5 separate regions of the Homo sapiens genome follow, and all the other regions are linked to region 2. Evidence: promoter capture Hi-C in human tissues and cell types (Jung and others, 2019). All regions are on one chromosome and are shown on one strand. The core of a region is centred on a gene start or on the middle of the fragment in contact, and the rest is flanking DNA. Distances in the headings are between cores, read along the strand shown. Region 1 has its middle 100 kb from the start of LINC00976. Region 2 holds the start of MYC (MYC proto-oncogene, bHLH transcription factor). Region 3 has its middle 190 kb from the start of LINC00976. Region 4 has its middle 170 kb from the start of LINC00976. Region 5 has its middle 180 kb from the start of LINC00824.

Region 1 (2,755 bases), core at 63-2,562, 1.3 Mb before region 2:
CCTGCTTCTCAGCACTTTTTATCCACTGCCTGCACAGTCGTGACACTCATTAGGAAGACTGTGATGATAGCTTCTCAGCTAGTCTCTCTGCCTTCCAGCTTTCTGCCTGTCCCTACTCCATCCTATTCCCTCAGGACAGATGTATGTTTCTTAATTTCAATTCTGGAAACCTCAGCCTCTCTCTCATAAAGCTTAATGCATCAAGCTAAGAGCTATCATTTATTGATTGGTGACCATGTACCAGACAATTTTTATCATGATTTTTGTCTGTTTTGTGTAAACACATACCTCAGTGCCGAGAATTTTTAAAATTCTACATGTCTGCCTCAAGGTTATTGGTTAAATGAAGATATTATATCATTTTATCTTAAATATTGCCTTATGTCATATTATTTACCTATTTTGGTAACCTCAGGTTGATGATGGTTAATTAAATTATTCAAAAATGTAGGAGAGAACCCAGGTTTAAATTTCAGGCCTGTGTGATTTCAGAGGTCATTTGTTAAACTAATATTCAATTCTGGCTCCAAATGGCATTTAAGCAACTGCCCTAAAGAACCTGAAACAGTAAGTCCAGCCCCTACTCTCCTCAAGTCCTCCAGAAGGACCAACAACCTGCTATTTTCAACAAGTCTCACATCATGGTCTCCACTTTGTTCAAATGCTGGCCGGGCGCAGTGGGTCACGCCTGTAATTCCAGCAATTTGGGAGGCTGAGGTGGGAGGATCACCTGAAGTCAGGAGTTCGAGACTGCCTGGACAACATAGTGAAAACCCTTCTTTACTAAAAATAGAAAAATTAGCCAGGTGCAGTGGCGTGCGCCTGCAGTCCCAGCTACTTAGGAGACTGAGGCAGGAGAATCATTTGAACCCTGGAAGCTGAGATCGCACCACTGCACTCCAGTCTGGGTGACAGAGAGAAACTCTGTCTTGAAAAAAGAAAAAGAAAAAGAAAAAGATAATGTCCTTTAAGTCCCATCACACTCACCATCTCCGAAAAGCCAATCCAGATGGTCTCTACCATAGATTCTCCTTTGAATTCCTGCCACAAACTCACTCACACTCATACTTTGATGCAAACAATTTGCATGTTAAATTGTTTGTAAAGGAGTAAGAGTCTTGCTGAATTTTTATGTTCCCCAAAGGATTTGAAAAAGCACTGGACACCAGGAAGGGTGTTAGTAAATGCTTTTTTAAACTAAATCATGTTAAATTTGAAATTAACCGCATTGACTTCCAGTTTCTTCTGTCAGCAGTAAAGAAGGGGATATTTACTAGAAAATAAGTTCCCCAGTTTGAGAAAATGTTGCAAGCCAGAAAAGAGTTTGGACCAATCCCCAAAAGCAAATTTTCTCATCGCCTGGATAGGGACTGAGAAAAAGAGTACTTCTTTTTTTTTCTTGTGCTCTGGGCATGACTCCCAGCCTCCCCTAACTTTTGAAACCAAGCTTCTGGGAACACTGAGTACACACGTGCCTCTTCAGTCCCTGACACACAGAGGCATACACCCATTCCATAGAACTTTACCACATCCAGACTTACGAGCAAATATCCGAAAGTTGGAGGTAATGGGGAGAAATGAAAAGTAGAGCTACCTCATAGTAGTAGAGGTTTTGTAATACTGAAAAACAAGGCAGGAGAGCCATCCCTACAGAGAGATGTTGGGGATATTTCTGGTGTATTGATTTGGAAATCATCAAATAGAATCCTAAATGCCAAGGCCTGAAAACCTATCTCCAGTGTTCTTTTCTTTCTTTTTAAAGCTGGCAGAACTGCAAGCTGAGATAACAGCAAGGTATTTTTAGCTGTGTGTATTGATTTTTTTTGTCCTTGGAAGCTACTATATTCTATTATAACCCAAAAACAACAAGTGAAAAAAGCCAGCTGTGGCAAAATCTCATTTAAAGCAGAAGCATAATAATAATGATATTAAAATAATATGTTTGGAAGTATCTAAAGTTGCAATACTTGGATATTTTGGCATAAAGGGCCTCTCTTAAATGCTTTGCCCTCTGAATAATGCCTTTCGACTGACTGTTCTGCAGCAAAACTATTAGGTGAATAAAAATTTTAAGATGTGGTACGCTTGCTGGCAAACATCAAACTGTACAAAACAGGGATAGTCAATATCGATAACTGTCCCTGAAAAAAACAAACAATCAGAAAAAACTGGACATGGGTATCTTCATTACAAAATTTCTCACTATCCAGACTTCTTATCTCTCCCCATAACATCATCATCCATAATCGAAGTGACTTTTCTTAAATCTTTGCTGCTGTCTGCCTGTACAATACCAGGGACTAGCTAGATTTTATGACATTGCTTATTCTACTGAGGTATTTACCTGTAGAAAATATTCCTCTTTTTCCTGTACATTACATCCACCAGCTAAGCTCCTTTTGTGTCCCTCTTGGAATACCATTGCATCCTATATCGGGCTTTCCTTTTATTGCCGTTTTATATAGGAGGAAATATTTTCTTCTCCTTCTTGAGTTTGTGTCTGGGTCCTCTATAAAACAGATTCTTTGATTTGTTTTTTTGGAAGTGGCCCTTCTTTCCACTCCTGCTCTCATTTCTTCCCAAGGGAGGAGTAACTATTTAGAGCGTCCCTGAAATTGGTAAGGTATTGAGTATGCATTACCTAGGCTTCTTTCCTCCTTTATTTTTCAGAGTAGGTTGGTATTGAGACTCACACATTCTCAGTTCCTTCGTGCACTAGTCTAGCCTGTTATGGGAAGGTCAGTCATTCCACAGA
Region 2 (2,700 bases), core at 85-2,584:
TAATAATAGGGGCACCTCCCTTCGCACTCAATACGGAGATGCAACTGCGCCAGAGACCCCGCTGCGATACCTCCCCCGGAGCCACCCCACCAAGGGTAGCAGCTGTTCTGGAACCGCCCAGAGCCCCGCTCCTCGCAGTTCCTCCGCATCTCGGGCGCGAGGACACCCGAGGGCGGCCGCGGCAGGGGAGTCAGGGCTGGGTGCGGAGATTCGCCCTGGTTTTTCCAAGTCAACGATTCCAGGAGAATCGGACACATCCTCGCCTCCCTTTTCCCCTGCCTGCGCCTACCCAACACCACGTCCTAACACCTCTAGAGACCCAGGTTTTAAATTGTATTATTGCTTTTTAAAAAGCCAAATGCCAACTTCTTAAAAGGATCAGGGCGGGTTGGAATCGCCGCGGGGACAGGCGGGCGGGACGCGCCGCAGTGTCCGTCTCCGGCTGTCAGAAATGCGGTGAGCCGAAATTTAAATGCCCTCCCGGAGACGGGGACAAGTCAGCGGCTGCGGAGCGATCTGGCTCACACAGGCGATATGCGGTCCCTACTCCAAGGAGCTCAGGATGCAAGGGGCTTTCTGCCCACCGCAAAGCAACCCCCAGCCCCCCAAAACCCAGAGAGCAATTAACACAATAAAGCAGGAATGTCCGACCGGCCGGGAGTCAGCGTGAATATATTCATAAGGCAGAAATCTCGAAAGGGTAGTCTTAAAAACCATTCCCGTTTTCCCTCTGCCTTCTCCTCTCCCATCTTGACAAGTCACTTTACCCCGATCCAGTTCTGGATTACCCCCCACCCCAGCCCCAGTTACCATAACTACTCTGAGAAAAGTGTCAATAGCGCAGGAATGGGAGAAAAGACACCCTATTTAGGCATTCGACTCATCTCAGCATTAAAGTGATAAAAAAATAAATTAAAAGGCAAGTGGACTTCGGTGCTTACCTGGTTTTCCACTACCCGAAAAAAATCCAGCGTCTAAGCAGCTGCAAGGAGAGCCTTTCAGAGAAGCGGGTCCTGGCAGCGGCGGGGAAGTGTCCCCAAATGGGCAGAATAGCCTCCCCGCGTCGGGAGAGTCGCGTCCTTGCTCGGGTGTTGTAAGTTCCAGTGCAAAGTGCCCGCCCGCTGCTATGGGCAAAGTTTCGTGGATGCGGCAAGGGTTGCGGACCGCTGGCTGGGGGATCAGCGGGAGGGCTGGGCCAGAGGCGAAGCCCCCTATTCGCTCCGGATCTCCCTTCCCAGGACGCCCGCAGCGCAGCTCTGCTCGCCCGGCTCTTCCACCCTAGCCGGCCGCCCGCTCGCTCCCTCTGCCTCTCGCTGGAATTACTACAGCGAGTTAGATAAAGCCCCGAAAACCGGCTTTTATACTCAGCGCGATCCCTCCCTCCGTTCTTTTTCCCGCCAAGCCTCTGAGAAGCCCTGCCCTTCTCGAGGCAGGAGGGGAGCCAGGGACGGCCGGGGCCCGGCGGTGGCGGCCGCGAGCAGCACAGCTCGGGGGTCCTCAGCCGTCCAGACCCTCGCATTATAAAGGGCCGGTGGGCGGAGATTAGCGAGAGAGGATCTTTTTTCTTTTCCCCCACGCCCTCTGCTTTGGGAACCCGGGAGGGGCGCTTATGGGGAGGGTGGGGAGGGTGGGGAAGGTGGGGAGGAGACTCAGCCGGGCAGCCGAGCACTCTAGCTCTAGGATGTAAACAGAGTAAGAGAGCCGCATGAATTAACTACGCGCGCCTACCATTTTCTTTTGCTCCCTCTCAAACCCTCTCCCTTTCTCTGCTGCTCCTCCGTAGCAGTACTGTTTGACAAACCGCATCCTTGTCCTGTGAGTATAAATCATCGCAGGCGGAACAGCTGCCCTCCACACCGAGAACGCACTGCGCGCCCACCGCCACGCCACGCGCGTACCAGGCTGCAGGGCGCCTCGCTAAGGCTGGGGAAAGGGCCGCGCTTTGATCAAGAGTCCCAGGGAGAGTGGAGGAAAGAAGGGTATTAATGGGCGCGCGTTCAGAGCGTGGGATGTTAGTGTAGATAGGGAGGAATGATAGAGGCATAAGGAGGAAAACGATGCCTAGAATGATTAAAATAACCCAGCAACGCATTGCCACGTATACTTGGAGAGCGCGTTATGAATAAACTCCCATTGCATTTGTTGGGGGGAGTCATGTATTATGCATTATGTATGCACAGCTATCTGGATTGGATACCTTCCACCCAGACTGAGTCCCCCAATTTGCTGCCAAAGCAGCAGATACCGCCCCTCCTGCCCCGCCTGCTCAGGCTTCCGTGGGGCCCCGTGCGGGAGGCGTCTGTTTAGCCCTGAGATGTGTCTGCCTGTTCCAGAGCTGGGCTAGGGCGAGAGGGAGGTTGCCTGCTCTCTGCCAGTCTGTACCCCACCGTCCCACCCCCACGCCTCCCACACGGAGTTCCCAATTTCTCAGCCAGGTTTCAGAAGAGACAAATCCCCTTTGCGCCCTGTGGCGCCGGTTTGCAACAGTCTCGGGCTGCCGGGTTTGGGAGAAATCAAAGGTGCTAGACGGGAGAATATGGGAGGGGCAGGGGGTACCCGAACCGCGGGACCGGACTTCCTAAAAGGGGCAAGTGGAGAGCTTGTGGACCGAGCCGGGGGAGTCAGCAGAGACCCTTGTGAAAAAAACCGTTAACTCTTTCCTCCCCGGACAAACCGGACGTTTAATTCCTTTCCAGGTCC
Region 3 (2,700 bases), core at 45-2,544, 1.0 Mb before region 2:
ATTGAATTGACTAAATAAATATATTTTGTTGAACTTTTAAATCTATACATAGTATAGCTCTTCACTTCTGTCCTTTTACAAATTTAAATAATGTTCTGAAACCTATAGTGATTTTCAGCAATAGAGTTCTTAGAGCTAAAGTGCTTTCTGATAGTGAGAAAGAGAATAAGAAAAAGAGGGTGGAGGAAGAGGGAGATGGAAAGTGAGAGGGAGAGGGAAAGAGAAAGGAAGAGAGAGAAAGAGAAACTTTTTACTTCTTACATCTCAGACAACTAGTACTCTAAGTACTCCGCCATTTTGGAACATGTCATGTGAATTTATTTTCTGGAATATTCATGCTTTGCTCCAGATCAACTAAAAAAATTGTGGGTAGAGGTATAGGCATCAGTTATATTTTAAAGTTTCACAGATGATTTCAATATTCAGCCAAGGTTGAAAACCATTTTTCTAAATGCTAAGAACCAGGGATGAAGTCATAAACAGCACAGTTAAAACCTAGCTTCCTCTGAGGCAGTCACTCTCCCACTACCACCATTCTTTTCTCTATCTTACTTGTGGCTCTCACAGCACTATGCTTTCATTATACTCTTGACCTTTACTTGTTACTGCCTTTGGGATCTCTGTCTCCCCTTCCTTTTCCAACTCTCATTTGTCCTTCTAGACTCTCCTCAGAATCCTCAAAACTTCCTCAAATTTCTTCTCAGGGCTTGTAAGAGAATGTCTTCCTCTGGACCCCTCAGCATTCCATCCTTTCTTCCACCATCACATTGGCTAAACACTTTTAATTATCTGTTTTTATTTCAGTTTTGATCAGACTGAATGCTCTTTGAGGTCAGAGACCATATTATATCAGTCTATGTCTTCTCAGCTTCTACAAAAATGCTCAGTGAATGTTGGACTAGTAAACTGAAATCATGAGGCTATTTGAGGTAAGAACTGACTGGCACTGCCACAGCTTTGAGACAGAGTTTAGTAGGACTTGTCATAGCCAGCGGAGAGTAACTTGTGATCACCAGTGCATGAATGTTGGGACTCACCTCTCAGGACATGATGGTTACCACTCTGAGCAAAAAAAATATATGAGACTTTCTATTGAGAAGGAGACAGTCCAGTGTATAAAATTGTCAGAAATGTATGTTTGATGTTATGTGGTCTGATTTCCCCAATTTAATTTTTCCTAGATCTTACTATACTTAAGATCTTCATCATGAAAAAGATGTATATAAATTGTGTCCCAAAAGACCATCAGTGGTTGTCTTGGAATTCAGGTTTTTTTTTTATTATTATTTGTTTGTTTTTTAAAGCACATTTAAGAAAAGACCAGAGGCATTCTTCTGAGACTTCTGCTACGGTTTGAATGTGTCTCCCAAATTTTGTATTGAAAACTTAATCCCCAGATTAATATGATGATGGAATCTGGAGACGGGGCTTTTGGGAGGTAATTAAGATAAAATGAGGTCATCAGGGTGTGGCCCCCATGATGGTATTCGTGGCTGTATAAAGAGTAAAAGAGAGACCTGAGCTAGCATGCTTGTCCTGTCTCATCAGGGAATGCCTTCCACAATATCTTGACATAGCACAAGGTCCTCACCAGATGCCACTGCCATGTTTTCAGGCTTCCCAGACTCTAGAACCATGAGCTAAATAAACCTCTATTATTTATAAATTACCCAGTCTGTGGTATTCTGTTATAGCAATGGAAAATGGACTAAGACACCTTTCTCGATCAAATATTTTTCAAGTTGCTTGGTCAGGAAAAGCAAAAATTAACACCAAGTGTCCATTATTTTATATTTTAGATAGTTGCATAAGTAAGGTTGTCTTCATTGACTGTTTAACAAATTATATTTTTTATTTCATAGTGTGACCCTATCATTCTCAGCTAATATTCTGTCTCTCTTTACTAACTTATGAGGTTAAAACAGTTCGTATATTATTATAGATAGCTATCCAGACAAAGGTAGACACAGACTGATAATGGAGCAAAGATTCTGCAGCCAAATGTGGACAGACAAGGAAAGAAGCTTATTCCTGGCACAGTATGACAAATGCACAGCCAAGTGCAGATCTACGGTGATCCCTATTGAACTCAAATCAGATGGGAAGTGATGTTGTTACTGTAAAATTAAGTCATGTCTGGTTATTTTTACATTAAAACAAAAATGACAATAGGAGAGATGATCAATAATGATCTGAACAACAATAATAACAGCAGTAAACTATGGAACATCATCCTTTTTGAACTCACTTTTCCATAATGTGAAGGGCTTCCTAAACTTTCTTGAAGAATTAGTTAAAATAATAAAAAATTATAGAACTAGTGCAGGCTTTTTATATTGCTGAAGGAAATGTTTAGTGAAAAGAAGGAAATTCTTCATGATGAGTATAGACTTTACAAGTGTTTAATGTTGGGTGCAAAGAGCAGAAATGACACCATTGGACTCAGGCAGAGTAGGATACTTTCTGGTAAGGCAGTGGTTCTGAACTGGGACCATTTTACCCCTAAGGGACATTGGGCAATGTCTAGAGTATTTTTGGTTGTCACAAGCTGGGGAAGGGGCACTACTGGCATCTAGTGAGTAAAAGTCAGGGATACTGCTAAATATCCAACAATACACTAGACAGTCGCCACAATAGAGAGTTATCTGAACCGAAACTTTAATAGTGTTGAAGCTGAGAAACTCTTCTTGTAAGGCAAAC
Region 4 (2,700 bases), core at 174-2,673, 1.1 Mb before region 2:
CACAGAGGAAATCCTATTATAAAGAGAGATTCAGCCCCACTTTCTGGGAAGAGTGAAAACACTGGGAATTAAGTGGAGTTTCTAAGCAAAAGGAAAATCCAAAGTGCCAGAGATGACTCAGCACAGGTCAGTATAGCTCCTATGTTGTAAAATAGGAGTTTTCTAGTCCCTCTTCATCCTCCCAGGTATGCTGGGATACTCTGATTAAACAGCAATATCCATATTAACCAACACTTCAGTTCATTTGAGTGCATTTCAATACATTAGGAGCTGTGAATGTATTAGGTATTTTGAATGCATTATATTTGATCCCAGCAACAATCTTGAAATGCAGATATTATCAATGAATCTTCTACAGAAAAACACAACAGAGACTCAAAGTAAATTATTTAGTCCCAGGTCACATGGTCCCATGGCACAGTAGCTGTAGAGTTTAATGGTTAAGAGCATGGACTCTGGAAACAGAATACCTGTGTTCAAGTCATAGCTTTGCTGCTTGCTAGTGGGGGAAAATAGACAGCATCTAAGATGGCCCCAGTTGATCCCCATTTCCTGTTATTCATGGACTTCTTCTAATCTTTTCCTCTTGAATAACCTACCTGTAACCAACAGAATATGGCAACATAGTGGGGCTGTCATTTTGTTGAGTAAGTTACAAAAGATTGTGGTTTCTTACTAGTGGACTCTCTCTGCTGCTGGCTTTGATTAAACAAGTTGTCATGTGAGAGAAGTCTTTGTGGCAAAAAACTGAGGGTACCTCACACCAACAGCCAGTGAAGAATGAGGGCCTTCAGTCCAATGCCCATGAGGAATTGAATTCTTCCAGCAGCTATGTGAGTTAACCTGAAAACAGATTCTTTCCCAGTAAAGCCTTCAAATGTAACCTGTTTCAGAGGACGCCTTAATTACACCTTTCTAAGGTTTGAATTTGCGCTCATGAAAACTCATGTTGAAATTTGTTCCCATATGTGGCAGTGTTGGGAGGTGGTCTAGCGGGGAGGTATTTGGGTCATGGGGACAGATGCTTCATGAATAGCTTGCTGCCCTTCTCACGATAGCAAGTTCACACTCTCTTGAGAGTTAGTTGTTATAAAGTCAAGACACTCTTTGGGTTTTGTCTCTTTGCACATATCTGCTTCCTCACTGACCTTCTTTGCCATGTTATGAGACAGCATGAAAGCCCTCACCAGAAGCCAGGGCTATGTCCTTGAACTTTCTGCCTATAGAAACATAAGCTAAATAAACCTCTTTTCTTTATTAATGACCAAGCCTCAGATATTCTGTTACAGCAACACAAAATAGACAAAGACGCAACCTTATGAGAAACGTTGAAGCAGAAGATCCAGGTAAGCCATGTTTTGATTCCTACCTCACAGAAAATGTGAGATAATAAATATTTATTGTTTTAAACTTCTAAATTTTGGGATGATTCTTTATGCAACATCAGGTAACCAATATAGGGAATGTGAGCAATTTCTTTAATTTCTGCCTGCCTCAGTTTTTTTACTCCTACTGTAGAAGTAGATCATCGTGATTATTTCATAGGGTTACTTAGAGGATTCTGTGTGAATATATATACAAATATATATATATATAGCCTGACATTGGGCAAATGCTGCCTAAGTTTGAAAATAGCAAAGCTGATATTCAAACCTGAGTCTGTCTGCTGCCCAAGCCCTTTGCCCTGGCAGCAGGCTCTCATGCACCATGCCAGTCCATACGAATATTGTCTTTAAAATCTACTTTACACCTCAGTTATGATTTTGTTTCTTGTTTCTTGCTGCATCCCTAAATTTATTTTATCCCTGACTCAGTGATGGCTTCAATTCCTAAACTCATTCTTGACCTTTGAACCAAAGAGGGAATTGACTTTTCCACTTGACTGCTTAGCATGTTTTCCTGGACTCCTATTCATTCTAGGCTTCCCGTGTCCTGTGCCCAGTTTAACTCATGCCTAGTATCACTGTGCCTCATTTCTGAGCTTGGAACTAAAGTTACATGCTACATAATGGCATTTTGGTCAATAATAGGACATATATATGTCCTGGTGATCTCATAAGATTATAATACTGTACCTTTTCTGTGTTTAGATATGCAAATACTTACCATTGTGTTATAATTGGCTACAGTATTCAGCATAATAACATGCTGTAGAGGTTTGTAGCCTGGGAGCAATAGACTATACCATATAGCCTAGGTGTGTGGTAGGCCATACCTTCTAGGTTTATGTAAGTACACTCCATGATGTTCACACAATGGCAAAATGGCCTAATGATGCATTTCTCAGAATGTATCCCCATGGTTAAATGGTACATGCCTGTGCCCATGGTTAAGTGACACGTGCCTGTGTATCAGGATCTGTATGTGGTATTCTGGAAAGCCAGAAAGAACAATGACTAAGGGCAAGAAGATTTGTCTTCTTTCTCCAATTCCTCCTTAAAGTAACTCACTTTATCATTTTCTGCATCTCAATTCATCACATGTGACATGGGTATTATAATTTCTATCTTATGGAGACACCATATGCATTAACTACGACGTGGAAGATAGAACAGTTGACATTAATTAGGTGCCCCGATAAATACTAATCCTGCTCTTGCATTCCTTAGCTATAGCACTCCATGGTTCTAGCTGTAAGTGCTTCAAGTAGAGGCCATGGAAAGTACTAGAACATCTCTCTCTCTGTTATGACCCCTTCTC
Region 5 (2,787 bases), core at 233-2,732, 1.0 Mb before region 2:
GTAATGTGAACCAAGTTGTTTAAAATCTCTCATTGGACAGCTGCAGTATAACAAATTACCACAAATATAGAGGCAAAATAGCCCATAAATATTGTTTTATTATTTTCGTGGATCAGAAATACAGGCATAACTTAGTGAGATCTTCTGCTTTAAGTTCTTTTATATTTAAAGAGAAAAAGAGATAAATTTATTTTAAGAAATTTTCTCATGTGATTTTTGGGGACTGGCAAATCTGAACTCTGTAGGGCAGGCTCACAGTCTGGAGTTCTGGCAGGGGTTGATGTGGCAATCTTAGTCCACATACCAAAGATGAACAGGCTAGAAACTCAAGCTGGGATTTTATGTGGCTATCTTGAAGGAAAACTCTTTCTTTTGGGGTCAACCTCAGTCTTTCTTTGCTCTTAAGGCCTTTAACTGATTGCATGAAGCCCACCCACATTATGGGTAGAATCTGCTTTACTCAAAGTCTACTTATATGAATGTTGATAATTATTCAGTCTACTGACTTAAATCTTAATCACATTTAAAAAAAAAACCCTTCACAGCAACATCTGGACTGATATTTAGCCAATCCACTGAGAACCACAGTCTAGCCAGGTTGACACAACATTAACCACCACAGGATGTAATCAACGTGTCAGCTAGGACTGGTGTCTCATCAGAAGGCTCAACCAGGGAAGGATTTGCTTTCTAAACTTATCTAGTTATTGGCAGAATTCCATTCCTTGCGTGCTGTTACATCGGGGGTCTAAGTTCCTCATTGGCTGCCGACAGGAGGTTGTTCTTGGTTCTTTGCTACATGGGCCTCTTCATGCAATAGTTAACTTCAACAAACAATTGAGGAAGAATTCCCTAGCAAGAGAGAAGCCACAGTCATATGTAACCTAATCAGGGAAGTGATATCCTGCCACTTCACCACATTCAATTAATTAAAAGCAAATCGTCAAGCCAGCCAGCAACCAAGGGAAGAGGATCACATACAGGCATAAACACTAGCAGGTGGGTATCATATTAGAGCCTGCTTGTCACAGACAGCTTATCTTCATTTCAGGTAAACTATTTTATTGAAATCCTCATAGTCTGTTTATGAAGTAGTCATCTTTATTACCATTTCACATATTAATGAATAAAGGTTCAGACAGCTTTTCTGTCTAGATCAACATAACACATCAAGTCAAAGGGAAAGACAGTAATCAAGGCTACATCTATTTGCTACTGAGAGCTTTGCTTGACCTCCTACTTTACAACCTAATATCGATTTGTTGTTGTTGTTGTTGTTGTTGTTTCACTAGAAATTCCTATTAGAAAAACTGATACTCATTGCCTTCTCTCAAATTTAAGTACTCCAATAGACCTTTGACTTCCCCAAACACAACCTGTGATGTCTCTTTGTATTGCATAAATTAGCCACATTTTCTGATCCCTTGGCTATCTGACTATAAAACTGGAACTATTCTGCTTTGCTAGCAGACTTAACCTCATCTCATTCTTTGTAACCAGTTTTTCCCTGTGAGAAGAAAAATAATCTCATGGCCTGGTCATCTATTACCAGGGAAGTCAAGCTCTGGATTCTATTCCAAATTTTGCCCTAAGTTCTAGACTGTGGATCCAAGGTATGAATTTTGTAAATGTCTGATACCTATCTACCTGCCTGATATTCCAGTTTCTCTAGGACTGGGATGCCTACCTTTATTCCTTTTAGGGTTTCTAAAGACCACAGTCATGATTCTGAACCTACGCCATTGTAGCTAGGCCCTCTTCTCCACCTTTTTCCATACTCCTCATTATTAAAATATTGCTCTTCCCAGGTAGGTAGAGAAGATGTGGAGGTTTATGACATTTCTTCTGGGTTTGTGATGCATGAGAAGACACATTAATAAAACTTCTAGTTTGTATTCTTAGATTACTTATTACAAATTTTAAATACAAAGGAAGAAAATTCCAGGCCATCTAGCTAAGAGACAATATGGGAATTTGAAGGAAAAGATACTTGTATAATTCCCCAAACTCTATAGCACCTATTCAAAGTAAGCTATGGTTATTTTTTAAATAATGATTTTCCCTAGATATCAATACAACAGATCACTTATCTTCCTTCTCCAAATATTAATATCTCCTGTTGACCTCCATCGTGCAAAGTACTGAGTCCAAACTGCCTATGGCTGTATTCAAGAATTTCCATGATCTAACTGCAAGCATTTTTTTCAACTTTATTTCTGTCCATGCATTATAATCCCTTCCCCTTCTTTGTGCATGATGGTTGTCCCTTAATTCTTAACCTATTAAGCTTGATTCAATATCTTTCTTTGCATTCAGGTCCAATAACATCATATCTAGTAAGTACTAGAGAGTACATACTATCCCTTACAGAAATATCAATGAAATGCTCTTTTATCTGTCATCCTCAGTACGTCGTTTATATCTAGCCAAGCCCATATTTTATTCTGTCACGTGATATGGCTCATTGTCTACATGCCTTTCTTCCCTTATTAGTTCAGAACACTTTAAAATGTAAGGCCTACATTGCTTCCTTTGTTATATTCCCATCCTCAGACTCCATCACACTGCTCTGAATGAGGCATAGGGATAAAATAATGTAGGGGGTAGGATATAGATTTTTGGAATCAGATGCACATAAATTTGGAAATAGGTTCTGGCATTTATTAACGGTGTAGATGTGATTGGAGAAGTTACTTGACCCCCAAGTCTTGGCTTTCTTACCTACTAAATGAAGGATAACATTGCCTGTCTCAAAGTTTTGCTGTAAGTCCTCACTAGCATTAAATA

Evidence for each region. Contacts are between HindIII fragments. The study calls those that stand out against the background at their distance.
Region 1: a contact is called between a fragment that was not itself captured here and the fragment with the promoter of MYC in region 2, in 1 of the 25 tissues and cell types used here (dorsolateral prefrontal cortex).
Region 3: a fragment that was not itself captured here is called in contact with the fragment with the promoter of MYC in region 2 in 1 of the 25 tissues and cell types used here (dorsolateral prefrontal cortex).
Region 4: a contact is called between a fragment that was not itself captured here and the fragment with the promoter of MYC in region 2, in 1 of the 25 tissues and cell types used here (dorsolateral prefrontal cortex).
Region 5: a fragment that was not itself captured here is called in contact with the fragment with the promoter of MYC in region 2 in 1 of the 25 tissues and cell types used here (dorsolateral prefrontal cortex).

The regions. Positions count from the first base shown.
Region 1 is chr8:129,066,073-129,068,827 of GRCh38, reverse strand. No RefSeq gene overlaps it. Among named protein-coding and RNA genes, the nearest start is that of LINC00976, 100 kb to the right of the region's middle. The HindIII fragment of the contact is 3,749 bases long and covers 1-2,755 here.
Region 2 is chr8:127,734,865-127,737,564 of GRCh38, reverse strand. MYC (MYC proto-oncogene, bHLH transcription factor) reads right to left here and starts at 1,334. Exons shown (of 3, transcript NM_002467.6): 1 at 942-1,334. The coding sequence starts at 971. RefSeq lists a silencer at 1,429-1,618 and a cis regulatory region at 2,106-2,700. The HindIII fragment of the contact is 14,684 bases long and covers 1-2,700 here.
Region 3 is chr8:128,778,705-128,781,404 of GRCh38, reverse strand. No RefSeq gene overlaps it. Among named protein-coding and RNA genes, the nearest start is that of LINC00976, 190 kb to the left of the region's middle. The HindIII fragment of the contact is 7,206 bases long and covers 1-2,700 here.
Region 4 is chr8:128,796,012-128,798,711 of GRCh38, reverse strand. No RefSeq gene overlaps it. Among named protein-coding and RNA genes, the nearest start is that of LINC00976, 170 kb to the left of the region's middle. The HindIII fragment of the contact is 3,980 bases long and covers 1-2,700 here.
Region 5 is chr8:128,738,469-128,741,255 of GRCh38, reverse strand. No RefSeq gene overlaps it. Among named protein-coding and RNA genes, the nearest start is that of LINC00824, 180 kb to the right of the region's middle. The HindIII fragment of the contact is 3,830 bases long and covers 1-2,787 here.